Regions from separate parts of the Homo sapiens genome. Here region 2 is linked to region 1. The links are contacts of gene promoters, found by promoter capture Hi-C in human tissues and cell types (Jung and others, 2019). All regions are on one chromosome and are shown on one strand. The core of a region is centred on a gene start or on the middle of the fragment in contact, and the rest is flanking DNA. Distances in the headings are between cores, read along the strand shown. Region 1 holds the start of TEX36 (testis expressed 36). Region 2 overlaps CTBP2 (C-terminal binding protein 2).

Region 1 (4,103 bases), core at 1,585-4,084:
TACTTTGAACCTGTGATGTATCAGAATGTGTTATGTACATCTCTTCCCAATTCCATGTTCAGTGATGTCAGTAGCTTGAAATCCACCATGGTGGAAGTATTTATGCATGGAAATTGGCAGATGCCACTACAAATCAGGCTGCGTTTCCTCTGGAGAGCTGGTTGTGAACCATTTATGAGCACAACACTGTCTATCTCCTTCTGCCCTTCTGATTCCCACTGCTATTTCCTATGGGATGAATCCAACCAGAGCCAAAGCATGGGCTGGGCGCAGTGGCTCACGCCTGTAATCCCAGCACTGTGGGAAGCCGAGATGGGGGCGCATCACCTGAGGTCAGGAGTTCGAGACCAGCCTGGCCAACATGGTGAAACCCTGTCTCTACTAAAAATACAAAAATTAGCCAGGTGTGGTGGTTGGTGCCTGTAATCCCAGCCACTTGGGAGGCTTAGGCAGGAGAATCGCTTGAACCCAGGAGGCGGAGGTTGCAGTGAGCTGAGACCGTGTCATTGCACTCCAGCCTGGGCATCAAGAGTGAAACTCTGTCTCAAAAAATAATAATAATAAATTCAAAAGCAAAAAGAGCCAAAGCATAGGGGAATAGGGGATACAGCCTTTACAGCTTAGACTCCAGACTGCAGAACAGGGAATAGATGGAGAATGACTGGGAGAGGGGTACACACAAAAGAAAGATAACCAGCACACGTCTTAGGGTTGTCGTGAAAGTTATATAAAACAATGAATATAAAAGTACTTAGTAAACATTGACGTGCCTTTCATGTGTTCTTCCTTAGTTTTGCAAAGTACGTTAGAGTTTGCAGAGTATTTATAAGGTGCTATGTGAGCACAATGCTGAGAAGTAGACAGCACTGTGCATCGTCTTCTGCACCCTCCCCCTGCCCTGGCCAGGCTAATTGGAATGAAGTTAGGCTTATTCTTGTTAGAATTTGGGGAATTAAATGATCAAATTAAAGATAAGAGAACACCCGCTGGGGTGGCAGAACCTTCAGGCTGTCCTTTGATTTTGCTTCTCTGTCTCTTCCATGGTAATTAAACTTTCGGCTGGGCAATCATCCCACCAGGACAATGCCTACTTTGCAGCTCCCTTTACAGTGAGGCCTGACTATGTGGTTGAAGTCCTGGCCCACGAGAGGAAGTGTTGTATGGCAGCTGCCAGGAAACTTCCTTAGGAGGAAGCAGCTGAGCCAACTGGGGTTGGCCCAATATGATCCATGGGGACACGCCCTTTCCCCTCTACTTCCCTTTCTGCATTCTGCTGCCTGGAACGCAGATGCCATCTGGGGCCAAGTGATGACAGCTGCCCCCTGGAGCTGGTGAGTGGTGGTAGGTGGGAGGGAGCCTCATCTCTGAGAATCCTGAACAGCAGAGCCACCATATCGAGCCTGGACTACTTCCCTCTGGACTTCACTACGCAGAGAGAATAAATGTCTATCATGTTTAAGCCCCTGTTAGTTCGGGTTTCCTGTCCCAGTCAAATTTGTTCGTAATCAATATAGTGCGTCTTGGCAAGGCTGTGAGACGACAGAACTCCCTTGCACTGCTGCTGCTGGGAGTATTTCTTTACACCTGGGCTTTGGAGAGCAGTGGGCAATGCCTGGTAAAGGTGAAAAATAGTGTCTGTTGCACTGGGTTTGTCAGCAGGTAGCAGAAATCCTGGAAGGGTTTACTCCACACACAACAGTATTGCCTGGTACAGCAGCTCTGCAACACCAAAAGAGGTGGCCCACCACCTTTTCCTCCTCTCCTTACCATGTGGCTTTTGGCATCATAGTGCAAGAGGACCTGTGCATCTCCGGTGTCACATCTAAGGGCCACCTCTGGCCCTTCAGTGCTGGCAGTGGATAAGGTCCTCTATCACTACTACAGCAACTCTCCTTGGAAAACCTAGGAGGGTGACTGGAGGAGGAAAGGGTGGAGGACACAATTTCTGAGTGAGAGAGCAGCTGGACAGGTTGTCCTGCATGTGTTTACTCTCGTATTCACACGGAGTAGCCAAGAGAATTGGCAAGACACAACATTAAAAAAAAAAAGAAAGAAAGAAAAGCAGAAAACACCTTACTGAGTAGAAGGGAGGCAGGACGTGTGTGTCCAGGCCCCGAGAGAAACGCCAGATTTCACGAGCAGCCTTTGCAGCCCTGGGGATGCCAGGTGGCCCTTGGCAAGGCTCATGAGCTCTGGAGCTGGCCCATGACCTTGCTGGGACTTGTGGCATCCCATCCATTGCTGTATGTCCCTTGTTTCCTATTTGTAAATGTTGAAGGTTGTCGTGGAGAAAAAATAAAAACAGGTGAATGTTTAGTTTAGCACAGCACTTGGCATATAATAATTATTCATGAGTGTTACTTCCTCATGGTCTCAATGCTGTGCCAGGCAGGTAAGAGTGGCTGTGAGTGAGTCCTGAGGTTGGGTCCGAGCTGAGACACAGAGGCTGCCACAGAAGGAGATGGTAGGCAGCGTGGGTCCTGGGTGCAGCAGTGCCACTGATGCAGACAAGGTCACCCCCAGCCTGGGACTCAACTTACTTCTCTGAAAACTAACAGGTTGGAACATACAGTTGCCAGGGGGACATGCAACTCAAACATTATTGGTTCAAAAATTGAGAGGGTACAAAATGTTTGCCATTACCCCCAAATCATCTTGTCCTTACCTGTCTGAGCTGACCACAGGGCTTCCTCAGCTGGGACCTGGTGGCTCTTTGCCTCTTACCCTGGGGAGTCACAGCTGCAAGGAACCAGTGGCAAGAATCCTCCGAGGGTTTAGAAGACTCCTTTGCCCATTGTGATGGGTGAGTTCCCATTCCATGACAACAATGGGCACCCGCACCTTCCCCTCCTGGAAGAGGCTGAGAAGTAAAGATCAGGAACAAGGAGGAGGAGGAGCTTCCCAGACGTGTAGAGCTTATGAAGTTTAGGAAGCAGCTTCCCAGACATGTAGAGCTTATGGAGAGGTGAGGGAGCCAATCTCAGCCACATTCAGCTTCCTGGAGAGAATGACCAAAGGGCGACGCTTCAACCCACCTTCAGACAAGGATGGGAGATGGGTAAGGAAGATGGTGGCCCCTGGTGCCTTTCTCATGCCACGTGGGTGTGGTCAACAGTCTGAGGAGTTCCAATCCTGCTTCTACTATTACTGAAGCATGACCTTTGACAAATCACTTCACTTTACTCAACCTCAGTTTCTTCATCTGTGACATGGGAATCCTCTAACACTCTTGCAAAGATTGAATGAAATAATGCATGTAAAATGCTCAGCACACTGGAACCTCGTGAATGTCCACTAAGCAGTCATTCCTGCTCTACTTTTTCTTTCTTCCTTAACATCTATTTTCTAACATACTACAGAACTTATTCTCTTATCTATGTTATTTTTCTCCCCTTGCTAGAATATAAGCTCCATGGAGCTGGGATTTTTGTCTATTTTATTCACTGATGTATCCCCAGTGCCTAGAACAGGATCTGGAGCATAGAAGGCACTCAATACATATGTGTTGAAGTAATTATATTATACTAGAAACCTCTAAACAAATTCTTGTTGGCTCCCAATCCAATTCCTTTAGCCCCTCCGGCCTATGAAATGAGAAGAGTCCAGGAATGCATCATTTACTCATCTTCATCACTTGAAAACTTTCCCTTTCCAGCTTCACGCTCTCCCCCAACTCTTGCTCTTCTGATGTCACTTACAGAGCCTGTGGGATTTTTCACTCTTCTACCATCTTCAGGAAACATTTGGGTCACTCCTAAGTGTGAGGTCTTAGCCTTGTCGGCCAAGCACTTCTCTCCTTTGCTCTTCAACATGTATATTTCATGGCCGACAAGCCTCAAGCCTTTCCCATTTCTGATTTCTACAATTCATTCACAAAAAGAATGTTAAGGGGAAATCACAGCAGTAGACTCGCAATGAGAAACATAATCAGAGAAAAACCTGACGTCGACTTCTTTTAGGGTAGCAACAGGTAAAAAATTGTTAAAATTTTAATTTGTTTCAAAGAAAAACAGAAAACACTTCAGCAAATTTGGGTCTGAAGGCTTTAAAAAACTGATCTACCCACTTGGATACAACCTTGGCTAAGCAGCTTAGTCTTTCTA
Region 2 (4,023 bases), core at 911-3,410, 650 kb after region 1:
TCATAGTCGACAGTTTGATTTACAGCCCGGGTGTCAAACAAAATGAAAAGCACGTGATGAATGGAGGGAGCACGTGCTGTGGAGGGAGGGGTGCGCTCCGCTCCGCAGGTCAGGGGCTAAGCGGCCATGCCTTGGCCTGTCTCTACAGGCACATGCATGCCCTGGACTATTTTTGGGGTGCCTTTCTCATCTTGAGGAGTGGCAGGTTTTTTGGACTAAGGACAAAGTGACAGAATTGGACTGAGAAAGGTTCATGGGGGAGGGCTCGCTGAGCCAGCCCTGATTAGGAGCATTGCTCACAAAACCAGAGGAAGGACGGCATCCTGGGACCTTCTGATCGCAGGACAGCCGAGGAGACCTCAAACAGTGGAGTGTGATGGGGCGGGTCACCATGGAGGTGAGGTGGAGACTTTGGGAATCTGCAGGAAAAGCTGCTAAAGAGCAGAAGGGGTGGTGTTCATTGAGCACCTACTGTGCGGAGCGTCTTGTGCCGGGTGCTGTCCAGAGCTGAGCACAGCCTCTTGAGGTTGAGTGTGTTCCATTGCTAGAAATGGGAATCCTGACATGGTCCAAGGTGAGGCCTGTCCTGCATCCCAGCTGGGGTCCCGTTGCACACTTTGGCTCCACCAACACTTTCAAAATGGGCAGTGCAAGAGAATGGGCTTGTTTTTTTTTTTCTTTTGAAACCCCATAATGAGTGGTCTAATTTTCATAATGCAGTTCCCAGGAAGCTTTACAATATAGTTAAGAAATTGAGTCAGAAGCAATGTGCAGGCCTTTGTTTTCACTTACCATGGCTAAATACTGAGAGACATGAGGACTGGGGCTTCTTAGGATGCAGCTAATCTGAAAAAGGCTGGGTTGGTTCAGACACTCGACGTCACTCTCCTGACTTCCTTTGGCGCGTTGCGTGGGTGCCCAAGCCTCCGCGCTCCAGGCCCAGAAATTGGTGAGAGCACTCAGTGTGCAAGCAAGGGTGCACGGTGCACTCAGCCCCTTTGATACCTGAAACGATGTCTGGGCAGTTTTGCTAATTGTTGCTGTGTGCTTGCGTGATTTAGACGAAGGCTGCTTTAAAACCCAGCCAGACTTTGTGTTTGCTATGTAACCAGTGCATTTGGTGTGGCCTCCCACCCTTTGCGTTAGATTAGCCAACTTGGCTACTTTGGGTTGAGGACGTTCGGGGGCAGGGGGTAGGGGGTTGATGAGAGGAAAGACTTTTTTTTTTTTTTTTTTTTTTTTTGAAATGGAGTCTTGCTCTGTTGCCCAGGCTGGAATGCAATGGTTCTGTCTCGGCTCACTGCAACCTGCACCTCCCGGGTTCACGCCATTCTCCTGCCTCAGCCTCCCGAGTAGCTGGGATTACAGGCACCCGCCACCACGCCCGGCTAATTTTTGTATTTTTAGTAGAGACAGGGTTTCGCCATGTTGGCCAGGATGGTCTCCATCTCCTGACATCAGGTGATCCGCCCCACTCAGTCTCCCAAAGTGCTGGGATTACAGGCATGAGCCACGGCACCCGGCCCAAGAAAACTTTTTTAATGGCACAAATTCCACAACACTTAACTTGACAGAAGCAGACAAAAATCCAGCACAGGCTGTCCACATTTAAAAGCAGGAAATGGGTATGCCATAGGCCGATTTTTCTGCCCTGTGTCTGCCAGAAAACCGTGTTACCCGCTAACTTCTGCAGCCTCCCTAGGGAAGCGCTCGCTGTGGGAGACGTAGAGGGCACTGTGGTGGCTCCGTCCTGGGATGCAGCAGGCGCTGAAGAGCCTCCTGAGATGTTATTTCCGCTATCACCTTCAGAGCTGCCCTGGCCCTTTGTGTTGGTGGAGGCAGGATCAGGGAATGGAAGCCCAGGCAGGTGCAGGACCCCCCTGGGGAAGCTGTTCCTTAAGTTCCTTCAGTTGGGAACTTAAGTTGCCTCCTGAGAATGAGCTATTCCCTGAGAAGGCCTTGAGACAAACCTGGCAGCCCACCAAGTGGGCGGGTGACAACACAGTTAAGAGGGACACACCATTGAGCCAAATGGCCCTCATGTTACTGCAACCTTCAGACTCACTGATCCCACCTGTTCTTCTTTTTCTATAAAAGTGAGAATTAGACCCCAGAGTCATGTTTTCTCTCTCATTTCAAGCAGTTTCCTGCATGATTATTCCAATGGGAACATGAAATGCTTGTTGGCAGTTTGTCCAAAGACTGCTCCGTCGGAGGGTACCCACTGATCATCCCCATCCTGGCCTCTCTTCCCAGCTCTTCTGGAACTGTCTGGATCCATCTCTGGAATTGTCTGGATCTCTGTAGGTCTCTGTTGTTAATTGACACCTTGTGTCGCACAGGGACTTCAGAATTGGCTTTGGGTGGACATCGCCTCTCTCCCCGACACAGCTATGTTACACAATCATCTTATTTTTACTTGACATAATTTCTATAGTGAGGGTTTTGGCAGAATTAAAAAATTAAGCCCGTGAGATGTATTACTCTAATGGGTCCCATCTCACTTTTAGTCAACATGAGAATTTTTAAGAAAAGCAGTCCTTTCTAAAAGACTGGAGTGTGGTGTGTGTGTGTGTGTGTGTGTGGTGTTTGTGTAACCAGAGTGTTTGGAAAAGTGAGTCCAGTTACAGGTGTTTTTACCTAGCGCAGGAAAACATCTGTCATAATATTTGTCAAATCTCAGAGCCAAGGCTGTGCGAGTTTGGGTGGTTTCCAAGCAGAACAGGTTGAAAGTTGATAGAAATGGAAGCTGGGCCTCCTGGTTCAATGGGAGGCTGATGCTGCCCCAAAGCGCATCTGCCCACATCTGCCCTGCTCCTGCGATCACCCCTTGGACACCAGCTCAGTAACCTCTCTGAAGAATCATTACTGGTTTCTTAGGCGCTACCGGGTAAACATTCTTCTATAGAGCCCTGTTTACATTTGAGAACTTGCTGAGCTGAAAACCAGATAGCAAAGAAGCTGGTGAGTCAACAGAGCTACCTCACCCTGCTACAAAAAAGACTTGGCATGGGGGATTTTCCCGGAATGCTCCAAGTTTATCCACCCATCTTTGAGGGGTGTGCATGCACCATGAGTGGGGTAGCATAGTACTAACACCACATAAGGTCATGTTGTTCATTACAACAAGGGGAGGAAAGAAATTGGCAAGGTGGCTTAATCCTGAGGCGCTGGCCAGGCGCAGTGGCTCATGCCTGTAATCCCAGCACCTTGGGAGGCTGAGGTGGGTGGATCACCTGAGGTCAGGAGTTTGAGACCAGTCTGGCCAACATGGTGAAGTAGATAGAGTAGAGACATGGTAGGCTCTACTAAAAATATAAAAATTAGCTGGGTGTGGTGGTGCACACCTGTAATCCCAGCTACTTGTGAGGCTGAGGCAGGAGAATTGCTTGAACCCAGGAGGCGGAGACTGCAGTGAGCCGAGATCGCGCCATTGCACTCCAGCCTGAGAAACGAGCAAAACTCGGTCTCAAAAAAAAAAAAAAACTGTGTCTCAAAAAAAAAAAATTTAAAGACTGGTATTTCTCTTTAGAAGATTCTAGTAGAGTGCTAGATTGAGAGAGATGTGAGTGAGGAACAGCACTCGGGTTTAATGCTTGCAGGTATGCATGTTGTCTCATTTTAAAGTGCTTTCAATGTATACAGCCTTTGTAGCTTCCTAATCACCGGCTTTTATTTTTGCTATGAATTCTTTGTCATGGGAATCCTGCAGTTGCAGGGCAGGAACCTACCGTGTTAGTCTGGGATGTTGCTTCTCTGGTACTGTTCCATATGTTTAAGGAAATGTCTTAATACTTCGGGGCACTCCTTTATCTAAATAACTGCTGTTCTTTGCATTATTGCGCCTGAAGTCCTTTGTGGACTCTGAAAGCTTAATCCATGTGAATATGGAAAAGCATCTGCAGGATCTAAGCCTGCTGGAATTAGGCTTTTCATCCTGACATACCTAAAGGAAGATGAGATATTCAGATGCAGCCGCTTCCCAGTTCTGCTTTGCAGTGTAAGGTTTAGTCACCCATCCTC

The links. Contacts are between HindIII fragments. The study calls those that stand out against the background at their distance.
Region 2: a fragment that was not itself captured here is called in contact with the fragment with the promoter of TEX36 in region 1 in 1 of the 25 tissues and cell types used here (IMR-90 fibroblasts).

Annotation. Positions count from the first base shown.
Region 1 is chr10:125,681,894-125,685,996 of GRCh38, reverse strand. It overlaps TEX36 (testis expressed 36), which reads left to right and starts at 2,834. Exons shown (of 4, transcript NM_001128202.3): 1 at 2,834-3,058. The coding sequence starts at 3,008. It overlaps LOC283038 (a long non-coding RNA gene), which reads right to left and starts at 2,754. Exons shown (of 5, transcript NR_033848.1): 1 at 2,666-2,754. The HindIII fragment of the contact is 13,590 bases long and covers 1-4,103 here.
Region 2 is chr10:125,028,709-125,032,731 of GRCh38, reverse strand. The region is part of intron 3 of CTBP2 (C-terminal binding protein 2); the gene reads left to right. Among named protein-coding and RNA genes, the nearest start is that of MIR4296, 2.2 kb to the left of the region's middle. The HindIII fragment of the contact is 5,221 bases long and covers 1-4,023 here.